Linked DNA regions of Homo sapiens: all the other regions are linked to region 1. Evidence: promoter capture Hi-C in human tissues and cell types (Jung and others, 2019). All regions are on one chromosome and are shown on one strand. Each heading gives the region's core, a stretch centred on a gene start or on the middle of the fragment in contact. The rest is flanking DNA. Distances are from core to core; before and after follow the strand shown. Region 1 holds the start of ING5 (inhibitor of growth family member 5). Region 2 has its middle 21 kb from the start of KIF1A. Region 3 overlaps SNED1 (sushi, nidogen and EGF like domains 1).

Region 1 (5,129 bases), core at 1,953-4,452:
TAGCCAGGCGTGGTGGCGGGCACCTGTAGTCCCAGCTACTCAGGAGGCTGAGGCAAGAGAATGGTGTGAACCCAGGAGGCAGAGCTTGCAGTGAGCTGAGATCACGTCACTGCACTCCGGACTGGGCGACAAAGCAAGACTCCGTCTCAAAAAAAAAGAAACGGAGTTAAATATCAAACGGCCAAAAAGTACTACCAAACTTTTAAAACAATGCACGCACTACACACTTTGAAAATTGAAAATATTTAAAAGAAAAAATTGGCAATAAATATTTTGATTGGAAAGGGTGATGGTTATAAAAACATGATATAAAGATGTGTAAGAACCCAAGAAACAATGTGGCTTCAAAAGTATCAACACCTACTGCAAGACACTGAGTGATACCCACGGCCCAGGGCTAGGCCAATGCCCCACTAACCTGGGTCCCCTCAAAACCCTCTGCCCCCAGCCTTCAGGAGCTGCTGGCTCCCACCTGTCAGAACTCAGTTCTGGTTGTATGGAGAGGTCTGAACCCACCTTCCGTCCTCTGGTCCAGCTCTCGCATCAGCTGGAAGTTCCTCTGAAGTTCGCAGGGAAGGTTCTCGATACCTGAAACGCAAAAACACAGAAGCCATGTACCTCTCAGCAGCAAGACAAAAATTCACCTCCAAAGGTTTTCTGTCTTTTTTTTTTGAGATGGAGTTTCACTCTTGTTGCCCAGGCTGGAGTGCAGTGGTGCGATCTTGGCTCACTGCAACCTACACCTCCCAGGTTCAAGTGATTCTCACGCCTCCGCCTCCTGAGTAGCTGGGATTACAGGCACATGCCACCATGCCCGGCTAGTTTTTGTATTTTTAGTTGAGACGGGGTTTCACAAGGTTGGCCAGGCTTGTCTCGAACTCCTGACCTCAGGTGATCCGCCCACCTCGGCCTCTCAAAGTGCTGGGATTACAGGTGTGAGCCACCAGGACTGGCCAAAAGTTTTATACTTCAAGTCTACAAGCCCACTCTGTATTCTGTCTCTGTCAGGGTTTGCGGAGCGGAAGGACTGTGATCTCATTTTTAGATGCAGGTACCAAACAGTGCTGACAAGAGGCTGTGTGCACACTTCGGAAGCTGTCAGAAGTCAAAGAAGGGAGAGGGAAACTTGGAAACCAACAGCACAGGCAGGGGAGGCCAACTGACCCCACCCTCTAGGCTGCCCCCCCTCAGTGAGCAGCATCTTCCAAGGCTCAAGCCAAAATCCCCTGGGTCCTCCTTGATCTTCCCCTACTTTACCCAGAAATCCAGTGCATTGAGCAGTGTAGCCACGCTGCCCACGCGACTTTATGCAAGGATAGAAATGTTTCCTCTCTCGGATGGGCGTGGTGGCTCATACCTGTAATCCCAGCACTTTGGGAGATCAAGACAGGCAAATCAGTTGAGGTCAGGAGTTCAAGACCAGCCTGGCCAACATGGTGAAACCCTGTCTCTACTAAAAATACAAAAATTATCCAGGCGTGGTGGTGCACAGCTACAGTCCCAGCTACTCGAGAGGCTAGGGCATGAGAATTGCTTGAACCTGGGAGGTGGAGGTTGCAGTGTGCTGAGATCATACCCTCCAACCTGGGCAACAGGGTGAGACTCCATTTCAAAAAAAATCAAAAAAAGAAAAAGAAAAGAAATGTTCTCTCTGAGCTGCCCAAGACAGTGGTGGCCATAGGGAGCTACTGAGCACTGGAAATGGGACTAACGCCATTCAATTTTTAATTTTACTTAAATAGTCCCTGTGGCTAGCGCAACCATTCCCCACAGTCTGCCAGGAGGACCCCCGTGCTGCTTTCGCGTCTGCTTTGTTACCCCCTAGACCAGGCCAACCTCCGCCCCCTGCACAGCTGACACAGGCTCCTAAGGGGGGCTGCCTCCTCCAGTCTTGGCCACCCTCCCATCTGCTGTTCACAGTTACCAGGCAATCATTTTAAACCTAACTCTATCTTATGCATCTGATGCTTCCAGCCCCAGTGTTTTCCCAGCTCCCCTAGAGGACAGAGGCACAGCCTCCCGGCTGGCACAGCCTCCCAGACACACACAAAGTCAACCCTCCTTGGGAGGCCAGCCCACTGGCTGGGCACCAGGATAGAGAAGGCCTCCCCTCCAGCGTGCTCCCCAGCTTGACTCTTCTACCCAGGGAACCCCCCACTACTCAGACCCCCAAGAGACAGCGGAGCACATGGGCAGAATCGGGCGTCCCTCTAGGGCAGCGGTCTCCAGCTCCAGGCCACGGCTCACTCGCCACTGTCTCAGCCCCTGGGCGGGTGCCAGGCCGAAGACCATGAGGATCCCCAGTGCAGCGCCCCCACAAGGGCCCTCCAGAGCCACCCGGCACAACCCCAAACACCGCGACCCCAAAGCTGTGCCCATCCCGGGCCGACGTCAGGGGTCCCGCGTGGGGTCTGCCCCTCTACGAGCGGGAGACCCTGAGCAGGCTGCTCGGCAGCGCTGGACCTTCCCTGGTGTGTAAAGTGAGGGAAAGCACCGTCCGCTCAGCCGCTGGGGGCGCCGACCTGCTGCCACCTGGAAACAGCACAGCCCGCCCACCAGGGCCGACTCGGCACCGCCCTCCCCGCCTCCGCGCCGCAGTCCCCAGTGCCGGGGAGAGACGCCCCGCGGCCCGCACGCCCTCCCCAGCCGCGGTCACACAAGAGGCCGGCGCACACGGGCGCACAGCCAGGCGGAGGCCCAGACCCCGGAGCCCCCAAGGCCCGGAGCCCCGCAGCGGGCGCCAGCTCCTCCTGCAGACGGGACAGGGACGGGCGGGACCTGGCGGGGCCGGGGCCGGAGCTGGGGGCGGAGATGAGGCGGGGCCTGGGTAGGGGCGGGACCTAATATGTGGGCGGGGTCGAGGCCGCAAGCCCCGCCCAGCATCGCCAGGCCCCGCCCCGCCGTGACGCACCTGGAATTGGCGCGACCCAGCCGGCGGGACCCCCCGCGCCCGCCCCCCGCGCCCTCCCCTCCCTTGCGGCCCTGCCCCGCCCCGTCCGCGCGCCCCCCGTCGCGCCCGGCCGCGCCCGCCGCCCTCCCGAGCCCACGGGGTCTGCATGCGGTGCCCGGCGCGCGGGGGGCTGCGGCACGGAGGACTCCGCGTGGGCGGCGGGCGCGGGGCCCGTGGGGCGCGCTTACTGTCCAGATAGTGCTCCAAGTACATGGCGGTCGCCATCTTCGTCCGCGGCCGCGCTCGGGGTCTGCGCGGGCGGGCGGTGCCGCGGGAGGCGGGGGCGGGGCGGTGCCAGCGCGCTCACTATTCATGAGTCGCGCGCGCTGATTGGTCGCGCCCGGGGGCGGGGTCGGACACGCCTTTCAGCTTCCGGCGGGCGGCGGGCTGCGGGGCCCGGGCGGAGGTTGTGGCAGCGGCGTCGGGCAGCGAGCAGGACCCAGGGCCGCAGCGGATCGGAGGCCGAGGAGGAGCAGGGGTTCCCGGCCCCACCGCCCGGCGTGCGGCCCAGGGCACCCAGGTGGGCGTCTCCCCTCCGCACCTGTCAGCGACCCCTGGGCCACCAAACGCAAACACGTGGTCCCGGGGACCTCACGCCCGTCCTGACGGCGCCCACGCGACCCCTGCTCCCGGCCGGGTCCCGGACAGGCCGCCACGAGGCCCTCCCTTCCCGAAGGCTCCTTGGGACCTGTCTGGCTCAGCGCCTTTCCCCCGGACCCCGAGCCCCCGGGGCCTCAGCCCGGCCTGAGCCGAGGGCCGGCACCGCGTGGCCCGGGCGAGCTGCCCCTCCCTCAGGGCCTGGGCCCTGGCGCCCTTCCCCCGCCAACGCCGCCCCTTCCCTCCGAGGAAAGCGGCCGCCCCGCCCAGCACCAGTGAGGGCACTGGCTCCTTTGCTGCCACCTCTCGAGGCAGGCAGGACCCGCACCATCTGGATGCCTTGGCCGAAAAGGCACGTGCGGCAGTATGATATAGTTAATAAGATGGCGTGCAAAGGTGTGCCGTAAGATGCATGCAAAAATACTGGAGAAGGCCGGCGCGCTGGCGCACGCCTGTAATCCCATCACTTTGGGAGGCCGAGGCGGGCGGATCACTTGAGGGCAGGAATTTGAGACCAGCCTGGCCAACGTGTTGAAACCCCGACTCTACTAAAAATACAAAAAAAAAAAAAAATTAGCCAAGCGTGGTGGCGCACGCCTGTAGTCCCAGCTACTCCGGAGGCTGAGCCCGGGAGGCGGAGGTTGTAGTGAGCTGAGATCGCGTCTGCACTCCAGCCTGGGCGACAGAGCAAGACTCTGTCTTCAAAAAAAAAAAAGAAAATTTTAAGAAAAAAAAAATACTGGAGAAACATAATTAAAATATGTTTCAGACTCGGCACGGTGGCTCACGCCTGTAATCCCAACACTTTGGGAGGCCGAGGCGGGCGGATCACTTGAGGGCAGGAATTTGAGACCAGCCTGGCCAACGTGGCGAAATCATGTCTCTACTAAAAATACAAAAATTACCCGGGCGTGGTGGCGGGCGCCTGTACTCCCAGCTACTCGGAGACTGAGGCAGGAAAATTACTTGAACTTGGGAGAGGGAGGTTGCAGTGAGAAGAGATCATGTAACTGCACTGCAGCTTGGGTGACAAGAGCAAGACTCCGTCTCAAAATAATAATAATACAAAAACTAGCCGGGCATGGTGGCAAGTACCTGTAATCCCAGATACTCGGGAGGCTGAAACAGGAGAATCGCTTGAGCTTGGGAGGCGGAGGTTGCAGTGAGCCGAGATTGCACCACTGCACTCCAGCCTGGCCAGCAGAGCAAGATTCCATCTCAAAAATAAAATAAAATAGGGCAGGCGCGGTGGCTCACTCCTGTAATTCCAGCACTTTGGGAGGCCAAGGCGGGAGGATCACGAGGTCAGGAGATTGAGACCATCCTGCCTAACACGGTGAAACCCCATCTCTACTAAAACTACAAAAAAATTAGCTGGGCATGGTGGCGGGCGCCTGTAATCCCAGCTACTCGGGCGGCCGAGGCAGGAGAATGGCGTGAACCCGGGAGGCTGAGCTTGCGGTGAGCCGAGATCGTGCCATTGCACTCCAGCCTGGGCGACAGAGCAACACTCCGTCCCAAAAAAAAAAAAAAAAAAAAAAAACTTAGCCGGGCATAATGGCTGGTGCCTGTAATCCCAGCT
Region 2 (5,129 bases), core at 1,303-3,802, 860 kb after region 1:
CAAGGAGTCTGCTCTATCACTCTCATGATCTCTACTTTAAGGTTAGTGCTGCTCAGCTGTGCCTAAATCCCAAAACGGAGGGAGAATAAGGAGGTATGTCTGACCCCACTTCCTGTCATGGCTGGGAATTCAGCTTTTCAGGTTTCAGTGGAGTCTCCTTGGTCAAGAGGGGGTTGTTAGATATAAGTTCTAAATTTCTAGTCAAAGAATCAATATGTCAGTATGTTCAATTCTTTGCCTTCTACTGTTAAACTTAACTTCCTCATAAAGCAACATTTTCAATTACCTACTTCACCCAGACTCATTCCGATCACCTGCTCCCCCTGACTCATTCCCATCACCTGCTCCCCCGACTCATTCTGATTACCTACTTCACCCAGACTCATTCCGATCACCTGCTCCCCCCGACTCATTCCGATCACCTGCTCCCCCTGACTCATTCCAATCACCTGCTCCCCCGACTCATTCTGATTACCTACTTCACCCAGACTCATTCCGATCACCTGCTCCCCCCGACTCATTCTGATTACCTACTCCACCCTGACTCATTCCGATCACCTGCTCCCCCGACTCATTCTGATTACCTACTTCACCCAGACTCATTCCGATCACCTGCTCCCCCGACTCATTCTGATTACCTGCTCCCCCTGACTCATTCCGATCACCTGCTCCCCCTGACTCATTCCAATCACCTGCTCCCCCGACTCATTCTGATTACCTACTTCACCCAGACTCATTCCGATCACCTGCTCCCCCTGACTCATTCCGATCACCTGCTCCCCCTGACTCATTCCAATCACCTGCTCCCCCGACTCATTCTGATTACCTACTTCACCCAGACTCATTCCGATCACCTGCTCCCCCCGACTCATTCTGATTACCTACTCCACCCTGACTCATTCTGATTACCTGCTCCCCCGACTCATTCTGATTACCTACTTCACCCAGACTCATTCCGATCACCTGCTCCCCCCGACTCATTCTGATTACCTACTCCACCCTGACTCATTCCGATCACCTGCTCCCCCGACTCATTCTGATTACCTACTTCACCCAGACTCATTCCGATCACCTGCTCCCCCGACTCATTCTGATTACCTGCTCCCCCTGACTCATTCCGATCACCTGCTCCCCCGACTCATTCTGATTACCTACTTCACCCAGACTCATTCCGATCACCTGCTCCCCCCGACTCATTCTGATTACCTATTCCACCCTGACTCATTCCGATCACCTGCTCCCCCCGACTCATTCTGATTACCTGCTCTGTCATAACCATTTTTCCCGCCAAAGCACTCACCCCATCACTCCTTTTAAATTAGCCGGTCAGAATTAGTTTAGCCTGTGCGGTCTAACCCTAGCCAGTAGCGGAACCACACAGCAGCAGGGGCCACATCCTTCAGGGTTAAGACCCGCTTCCCCTCCCTTGTCCAGGTGTGCGCTCACCATTGCTCCATCTCTAAGGGTACATCCTTCTATAGCAGTAACTTACCTTGCTGAGAATTAAAAATAAAATTTTATATTCGAGTGCTATTCCTTTTGCGGCACCAAACTTTATATATATAACGGGGTCTAGTCAGTTGGTTGAAAGGGCTTAGGACTTTATTCTTGGTTTACAAATCTCAAGGTGGTATAAAAACAGCAACTATCCTGCCTTTCTTTGAGTTCTTTTTTTTTTTTTTGAGAGGGGGTCTTGCTCTATCACCCAGGCTGGAGTGTAGTGGCGCCATCTAAGCTCACTGTAGCCGCCAACCCCCAGGCTCAAGTGATCCTCCCACTTCAGCCTCCCAAGTAGCTGGGACCACAGGCACGTGCCACCAAGCCCAGCTAATTTTTTTTTTTTTTTTTTGGTAGAGATGGGGTTTCACCCAGGCTGGTCTCAAACTCCTGAGCTTAAGCCATCCACCCACCTCAGCCTCCCAAAGTGCTAGGATTACAGGCATGAGCCACCGTGCCCAGCCTCTTTGAGTTCTATTTCCCTGACTCCTGTGTACATTAATAAATTTGTATGCCTTTTCTCCTGTTAATCTGCTTTCTGTCGGTTCATTTTTTCAGGGAAACTTCAGAGGGTGAAAGGAAAGATTTTCATTCTCCCTTACAACCCCAGTAGGCTTGAAGCCTAAGGCCTCACCTAATTCCTGGTGGGACAGGAGAGAGTGCTCTATGAAGGGTCACCCCAGGCAAAAGACCTCCCTTCCTCAGAACAGACCCCCGGATTCCTTTCCCCAAAGCCCAGCCCAGACCTTCACCTGGTAGCCCTGAGGGCCAGCTCCCAGCCCACATCCCTCAGGGCCCTAGGAATGTCCTAGCCCCTCCTGGGCTGCCCCCAGATCTGGTGCCTGTGGGTGGAGAGGTGTTCTGAGGTCACAGGCCTCCCGCTGACCTCTCCCCGCAGGGCTTCGAGTCCCTGAGACTGCAGATGTGGCCCAGGAGGCTGCAAGGAGGCTGGGAGATGGGGGGACCCTGAGAATAAGTTCATTCTTGCTGGCCCGACCAGGAGCACAGGCCACAGGCAGATCCTGGAAGGAAGTGGGCCCTCCCATGCCAGATCCATCAGGGAAGGGCCGAAACCAGAAGCCCAGCTGGGAAGCTGGATTCCTGTCCATCCTAGAAGCCCAGGAGTCATGGGAATGAGCCATCGGTGTGCCCTGTCCTCCACATTTTACAGAACTCAGCCAGTCCTTGCAGCCCCTTGAGGAAATTCTGTGTTATTTCCCGTTTACAGATGAGGAAACAGAGGCATGGAACAGGGAGTGACCTATCCAAGGGTCCCTCCTGTAAACGGAGAAGAGCAGCTGGGGAGGCTGGCCTGGAGGAGATGAGGCCAGCTGGACCCAGGCACCTATGTGGCTGCACTGATGGGGCTTCAGCTTTGAGGTGGGGCTCCCTGTGCTCAGCCCAGGGGGGCATGCCTCAGGAGCATGTGTCCAGGCACCCTGAGAAGAGGCGTGTTGGCCACCCAGCGACAGCTGGATCCTCCCGGGAAGGCCACACTTCTGTGGGCACCTGGGCCTGGGTGGGGACAGCCTCCCCCATGGGGAGGGGGCCTGGGCTGTGGATCCCGAGGCACACTCGCCCTGTTGGGAGCTCCTGTCTAACCTTTCCTGTCAGTTTTAGATGCATCCCTGGTTCTAATTCTTTTTCCCAGCAGGTGGCACTGGGGAGGCTGTTTGGAGCCCTCCAGGCCTGTGAGCTCAGGCCATGGATTGCTGGGATCCTTGTCCCCTGCTGACCAGCCCAGGGAACTCGCTGTCCATGGTGTCTGCAGCTCCCCCTTACGGGTCCACACAGGGTGTCCTCCATGGGTCACGACTGCCCCTGCTGTTGCCAGGATGCCTTCTCCACACCTCCCCACTCAATTTCTCCAGTCATGGCCCAGTGATTGCACCTGGGGCTGGGGGAGACAGAATTTGCCTGGAAGAGATGCTCAGTGTGGCCAGCTCACGGCCACCAAGCCCCACGTTTGCTCTCAGAGACAGCTTTGCACACAGCGGCATTGGCGGCATCTGGACTGGCCTCTTAGCTCCCCACACGTCCTCTTGAATAACAGAGGAAAAGGGAATTGATCCCCAAACTCCTTCCTCCAAGGTCAACTTCTCTTCTGCCAAGATCTAAGGAAAGCTTCCATCTCAGCTGCTCCTGCTGCTGGTTCTGTTTCTGCAGGTCATCTTCTGACCTTGAGTCTGAGTTAAGTCCCTTGCGTGCTGTGCTCCCTTGGATGGAAGCAGAACTGCAGACCCTTTGATGGAGCCTGAGTGGCAGAAGGGTCATCCGAGGTTGTGGCCTCTAAAAGACTCTCCAGTTTACAGATGGGGAAACTGAGGCTGGAGAGAGGGAGCCCTGCCCGGAGCCACACAGCTAGCATTGAGTAGACACTACCTGGGAACCGGACCCAGGTGTGCCCCCTCCTTACCAGGGTAGGAGCCGCCAGTGTGGGCTTCAGGGAAAGTCACTCTCTGGTGACCTGCACAGGAGCTGGGACCACAGAAGGGGACGAGGGGAGAGGGAGAGAGGGCTGCTCTATGCAGATGGCGCCTCTTTTTTCCCAGAAGCCACACTCCCCCTCACAGTGCGGGGCACTGGAGGTAATTCTGACCAGCGGCTCCGACTCAGGCTGAGCCCCAGGAACTCTGGGGTGCATTTAACAACACGGTGGCCAGCCCGGGTGCACCAGGTGCCCAGCCGCCTCTGAGAACCCCTGATGGAGACGAGGAGGCAGGGGCCCTGGGATCAGGAGATGTGTCCAGCTCAACCCTCAGTGCCTTCCTCTGAAAGTGCCATGGGGGCACTGCATAGGCTCGTGAATGTTAGCATCCTGGAACTCCAGGCCACACTGCGGTGAGGCACAGATCCAACATCAAACTTCAGCTGTGGGTGAGAGGCCTCCGGCTTGGGACTGACTCTGAGTCATCCAACCGTATGCACACATGGGCTATCCCCGCCGATGGCTGCCCTGCACGGTCAGGGATGGTGTCACCAGCCAGCACCCATCTGCAGCACGCAGGCTCGGGGAGGGGGAGCTGCCTCTGATCAGGCTTCGCTGCAGGGCCTGGCTTTTCTGCTCAGCTGGCCTCCAGTCTCCAGCCGCGCCTGGGCCCCTGCTGGCCGAGGGTGTCCCGCATCCATCAGACAAAGCCAACCCTGGCCATGGGCCTCCATGTGGGTGAGGCATTGGGAAAGAGCTGGTTCTCGCTGATTTACCCACTCACCCACTTGCTCCGGAGTTTCTGTTCTTAGGTTAGGTTTTAGTCCACTGGGCTTGTGCATGGAGCAGGGAGGGTTCCTGACTTTCCCTCTCCAGAGATCCTTCACCCAAGTGCAGCTGAGAAGGTTGAGCCTTTCCCCTACTAGTTTGAAATCCCGCCCTTAGCATGTGCTACCTCTATCATTTATCTTTTTGTTGGTTCCCTTGCCAATATTGAGTTGTTTTAATTATTATGGCCTTAAAGTTGTTAGGTTGATTTGCCATAGCATAGGTAAGACTCCTCTAGTAATTTCTCTTTGACTTGCTTCAATTTTCTTCTCATTATGCACCTTTTTTTTTTTTTGTCAGAATCTTGCTCTGTTGCCCAGGCTGGAGTGCAATGGCACAATCTCAGCTCACTGCAACCTCCGCCTCCCAAGTTCAA
Region 3 (5,129 bases), core at 1,632-4,131, 620 kb after region 1:
CTGGGTATTTCACAGAGAAGTTTGAGGAGTGTTGGGGATTCGGGATTCGGATGTAGGCATTGTAGAACAGGAGACCCGATTTCATCTCCTGCCTCTTCCATTTATTAACCAGGCTACTTTGAGCAAGTCTCTTCAAGTTTTAAGCCTCGGTTGCAGGTAAAAATGGGACCTACTCATACCATCTCTCTTACAAGTTTGTAGATAATAATGGATGGGAAGGCGTTTTGTCTTTTGTTAAAGTTCTCAAATGTCAGAGCTGTTTAAAAGGGAAATCCAAGGAGTTCAGCAGGCAAAGCTCCAACTCATATGCTAAGTCTCATAGAACCTTTAGGATCGAAAACCTGTGGTAAGACTTCCATTTCTGGACATGAAAGAGTAACAGAATCTGGAATTAACCTCCCAATGTGAACAACCAGAGAACTGGACAAAATATAGTAAGTAACTGTATGTCAGATGTTAGAAAACAGACAACACGAGACTGTAATCCCTGAGAGAGGAGAAACAGATGAGATGAGTCCTGTGGTCAGCCTGGAATTCAGCCTAGAGAAGTTTTTGGATGGCATCACAGAGAAAGGGGATCCAAGCAGTGGTCACACTGAGTTGAGGAAACAGAGATTGAAGTTGGGGAGACAGAGGCAGCTGGAATTTGTGGGGCAGTACTGAAGAGGAGGGAACTATGCAGAGGAGGAACTCCAGAATCTGTGTAGGGTCCCCTTGGGCCTGTGGTTGGAAATAAAGCTGTGCATGCATAGGGTGAATCCCCACAAGGCAAAGAAGAACTACTGAGGAGTTGAACGATTTCCAGAGCCAGAGTAGAGAGATCTTGTTTATTAGGCCATCCATAGAAACCCCAGACAGGGCCAGGTGCGGTGGCTCACTCCTGTAATACCAGCACTTTGGGAGGCCAAGGCGGGCCGATCACTTGAGGTCAGGAGTTTGAGGCCAGCCTGGCCAACATGGTGAAACCCTGTCTCTACTAAAATACAAAAATTAGCTGGGCATGGTGGTGAGTGCCTGTAATCCCAGCTACTTGGGAGTCTGAGGCAGGAGAATAGCTTGAACCCAGGAGGGCGGAGGTTGTAGTGAGCTGAGATCGCTCCACTGCACTCCAGCCTGGGCGACAGAGCAAGACACTGTCTCAAAAAAAAAAAAAAAAAAAAAAAAGAAACCGCAGAAAGGCCATGCCATAGAACTAGGGCAAAATTAACCCCAGAATAAAGGCTACTCCAAAGCCACCTAAAACAAGCCTCAGAAGGATCAAACTATACTCAGATAATGCCTTGCAGAGAAAAAACATTCTTGAAAAGAAAACAAACAAACAAACAAATCCAGCGTCAGTAACATAAAACTTACAATGCCCAGCATCCAATAAAAAACTATAAGACATTCAAGAATCATTTGAATAATCAAAAAAGTGACCCATAACCTAGAGAAAAATAATCAAATAGAATAAGACCCAGACATGAGAGTGATGACAGAAATAGCAGATGAGGACCTTAAAATATCTATTATAAATTTGTTCCACATGTTCAGTGAGCTAAAGGAAAATATAAAGATAATGAAGATAGAAATTGGAGCATCTAAGAAACAACTAAATGAAACTTCTGGAGATGATAAAACACAGTATTAATAAAACTTTTGTTGAACAGGATTAATGGTAGATGCTGCAGAAGAAAAGATCAATGACCTTGAGTGCATAGCAATAGAATCTGTCCAAAATGAAAAGACTGAAAAAGTTGAGAAGAGCTGCAGTGACCTGTGGGACAATATCAGTCTAATACACGCATAACTGGAGTCCCAGAAGTAGAAGAAATGGAGGGACAGGAAAAATATATGAAGAAATAATGGCAAAAATTTTACGAAGTTTGACAAAATTAAAACCCAGAAATACAAGAAGCTTAAACTCCAGAGAATCAAAACGTAGCCATACCGAGAAGCACATCATAATTAAATTGTCCAAAAACAGTCATAAAGGGAAAACATAAAAGGGGCAGGAAGACACATTCCATACAGTGTAACACAGGTAAGAATGACTGCAGTCTTCTTGTCTGGAACTATGCAAGCCAGAAGACAAAGCCATGACAACTTTTAAGTCATGAAAGAAAAAAATATAACTGTCAATCAAGAAGTCTATATTCAGCAAATATATTCTTCAAAAATGAAGGTGAAAAAAAAATAGTTTCAGACAAAAGCAGAGAGAATTCATCTCCTGCAGACCTGTGCTATAGGAGATGTTAGAGTTAAGTTCTTATGGCAAAGAGAAATGATACCAGATGGAATCCTAGATCTACAAAAAGGAATGAAGAGTGCTGGAGTCGGCAGGCAGATGTACAATAAATACAAAATACTTTACTTTCAATATCTAAAACAAGATAATTTTTGAGTGCAAAAATAACGTATAGTGCAGTTCACAGCATATGTGGAAGGAAAAAGTCTGATAATAATTCAAAGGATGGGAGGGAAGTGGAAGCTTGATGTCAGCCGCTGCCATGGATACTGAAGTTGTCTACTAGTGATTAAAGGTATGCGGCGTGAAGTTGAAGATGTGTATGGTAAATCCTAGACACTGCTGGCCGGGCACAGTCACTCACGCCTGTAATCCCAGCACTTTGGGAGGGCAAGGTGGGTGGATCACCTGAGGTCATGAGTTTGAGACCAGCCTGGCCAACATGGTGAAACCCTGTCTCTACGTAAACTTTGTCTCTACTAAAAATACAAAAATTAGCAGGGTGTGGTGGCAGGCGCCTGTAATCCCAGCTACTCGGGGGGCTGAGGCAGGAGAATTGCTTGAACCCAGGAGGCAGAGGTTGCGATGAGCCAAGATCGCACCATCGCACTCCAGCCTGGGGGACAAGAGGGAGACTTTGTCTCAAAAAAAAAAAAAAAAAAATCCTAGACGCTGCCATCATATTGAACTCGTACAATAGTAATTAAGGGTACATTGTGTTAAGGTGAAGATGTGTATGGCAAATCCCAGAGCAACCTCTAAACAATAAACCTAAGAAGTATAACCAGTAAGCCCATAGTGGAGACAAAATGGAATCCTAAAAAGTAATCCAAAATTAGGCAGGAAAAAAGAAAAAAGGAACAAAAAGCAGGTGGGAAAAATAGAAAACAAATAGTAATATGGCAGTTTAAATCCAACCACATCAGCCATTATGTGGAAGGTAGTAAATGGTCTAAATACTCCAATAAAAACCAGACTGTCAGACTAGATATCCAGCAAGACCCACCTCTATGTTAAATACTAGAAAGTCACTTGAAATATGCAGATAGGTTAAAAGTGAAAGGATAGAATGCTTTCAGGAAGTGAAGGGTCTTCTTGTTGGATACTTGGTGGTCACCAGCAGGCACTGGTGTAACTAAGCACAGCGGGAAGATGGCAGATACTGTGGATTCGGACTCTCACTGCATAGAATCCGAATTCAGTGGGCTGTCAACACGGCTTCCCAAATCCCAACACAGATTAGTATCTCATATGTGTTCCTGCTACATATTACACCTGGCTTCATGTCCAAGCTCTAATGAAGCTTCTACCCTTGCCCGTCTACATCCCATTCTCCACAGAGCATCCAAAGTAGTGTAATCGAACATGTCACTCTTCTGCTCAGAACCCTTCAGTAGCTCCTCCCCATTTCATGCCGGACAAACACCAGAGTCCTTCTGTGGGTCTCCATGGCCCCGAGGGTTCCCTGTCCCTCACCTCTCACCACTCTCCACTTCTCCCCCAACATGCCAGGGACACTCCTGACTTGGGGCCCTGGTAACTGTCCTCTGGCTCTGGAATGTCCATCCCTCCTCCATGTCTGTTCAGCATCGCCCTCCCCAGGAGGCTGCCCTCTTGCTGCACCAGCCCTGCCCATCCCCAGCAGGCTCTCCTGGTCTCGTCCTGTCATCTCGTCCTTTTTCCCTTTGCACTCACCACCTGCCACACCACACACCACACTCTCACTGCTGTCTGTTGTCTGTCCCCTCATCTGCAATGAACGGGTCCTGAAGGCAGGGCTTTGGTCTGCTCTGTTCTGATGTGTGCTGAGTATCTAGAACAGTGCCCGGCACACAGCAGGTACTCAGTAAGTCATCTGTTGACTAAATGGACAGTGCCCGGCACACAGCAGGTGCTCAGTAAGTCATCTGTTGACTAAATGGACTGTGTGACCGACAGAGTCATAGAGTGTTAGCAAGAAAGGACCTAAGAGATGGGCTGGGCATCTCTCCCTCCACAGCCCATTTTGGAGATGGGGGGCCTAAGGCCACATCATGAGTTAATGGCAGAACTGGGGCCGGCATTCTCATGAGCTGTTTGTTTTTCCAGGGGGCTCTGAGGAAGAGAAGAGAGGAAGGTCACATCAGTTGGCTCTGCCATCCAGTGGGGACTGGGCTGATGTGTGGGAAGGAAGGCCTGGGGGCCTGGGGACCAGGAGCCTGCGTTCTTCTCAGCCCCTGCTCCTGAGCTGCATGGACTTGGGGCAGTTATTCGGTTTTTCTGCCTCAGCTGCCTAATTTGTGACATGGAGGGAATCGATGGTCAAAGCAAGTCCCTTCTGTGACTGCAGCCATCGTCCCTCCTCAGGGTTAGCTGGGTAGCTTTGAGACAGCACTTTGAGGAGTCAAGAACACACGACAAATGCGGTAAGGCGGAGGACAGAAACCAACTTACACGTGGTGACAGACGCCTCCCTCCCAGACTGGAAAGGCCTTTGTCTCGGAGAACAGCCTTGTGCAGGGGCGGGACACCTTTATACAGGCTGCGACAAAGAAGGGCAGTGGCTCACCAGGTGCTCCTGACGGCTCCTCCTGCCCCTCTTGAGAGGCCTTGCCCAAGGGAGAGGGCCCGGGGGTCCTTAGGCTGGCTTCCTCCAAGGCGGGATGGTGGGAGAGGGCCCGGGGGTCTGCAGCTGGCTTCCTCTAAGGCCGGGGTGGGTTGGTATTGTGGGGGTGGAGAGTCCCTTCTCCTGACACCGCTCTGGCTGGGTCAGGGAGCCCTCCGAAGCTGTGCCTCGCATGCTGTGGCTGTTCTGACCCCCGTGATGGGCAGCACCTCTCATCCTGGTGCTTGGGGCAGCAGCGCAGCCCCTGGGGGCTCAGGGGTCAGCCCCGTGCACCAGACTCCCTGTCTGGCACCTCAT

The links. The method cuts DNA at HindIII sites, captures the fragments that hold promoters and counts their contacts. A contact is called where the count stands out against the background at its distance.
Region 2: a contact is called between a fragment that was not itself captured here and the fragment with the promoter of ING5 in region 1, in 1 of the 25 tissues and cell types used here (spleen).
Region 3: a fragment that was not itself captured here is called in contact with the fragment with the promoter of ING5 in region 1 in 2 of the 25 tissues and cell types used here (lymphoblastoid cells and spleen).

The regions. Positions count from the first base shown.
Region 1 is chr2:241,700,112-241,705,240 of GRCh38, reverse strand. It overlaps ING5 (inhibitor of growth family member 5), which reads right to left and starts at 3,202. Exons shown (of 8, transcript NM_032329.6): 1 at 3,139-3,202; 2 at 517-588. The coding sequence starts at 3,175. RefSeq lists enhancers at 2,084-2,713, 2,952-3,784 and silencers at 2,439-2,998, 3,183-3,346, 3,089-3,908. The HindIII fragment of the contact is 25,906 bases long and covers 1-5,129 here.
Region 2 is chr2:240,838,694-240,843,822 of GRCh38, reverse strand. No RefSeq gene overlaps it. Among named protein-coding and RNA genes, the nearest start is that of KIF1A, 21 kb to the right of the region's middle. RefSeq lists an enhancer at 4,130-4,630. The HindIII fragment of the contact is 4,124 bases long and covers 491-4,614 here.
Region 3 is chr2:241,081,896-241,087,024 of GRCh38, reverse strand. SNED1 (sushi, nidogen and EGF like domains 1) reads right to left here. Exons shown (of 32, transcript NM_001080437.3): 29 at 4,661-4,748. It also overlaps a transcript of MTERF4 not described here. Among named protein-coding and RNA genes, the nearest start is that of MTERF4, 18 kb to the left of the region's middle. The HindIII fragment of the contact is 4,214 bases long and covers 775-4,988 here.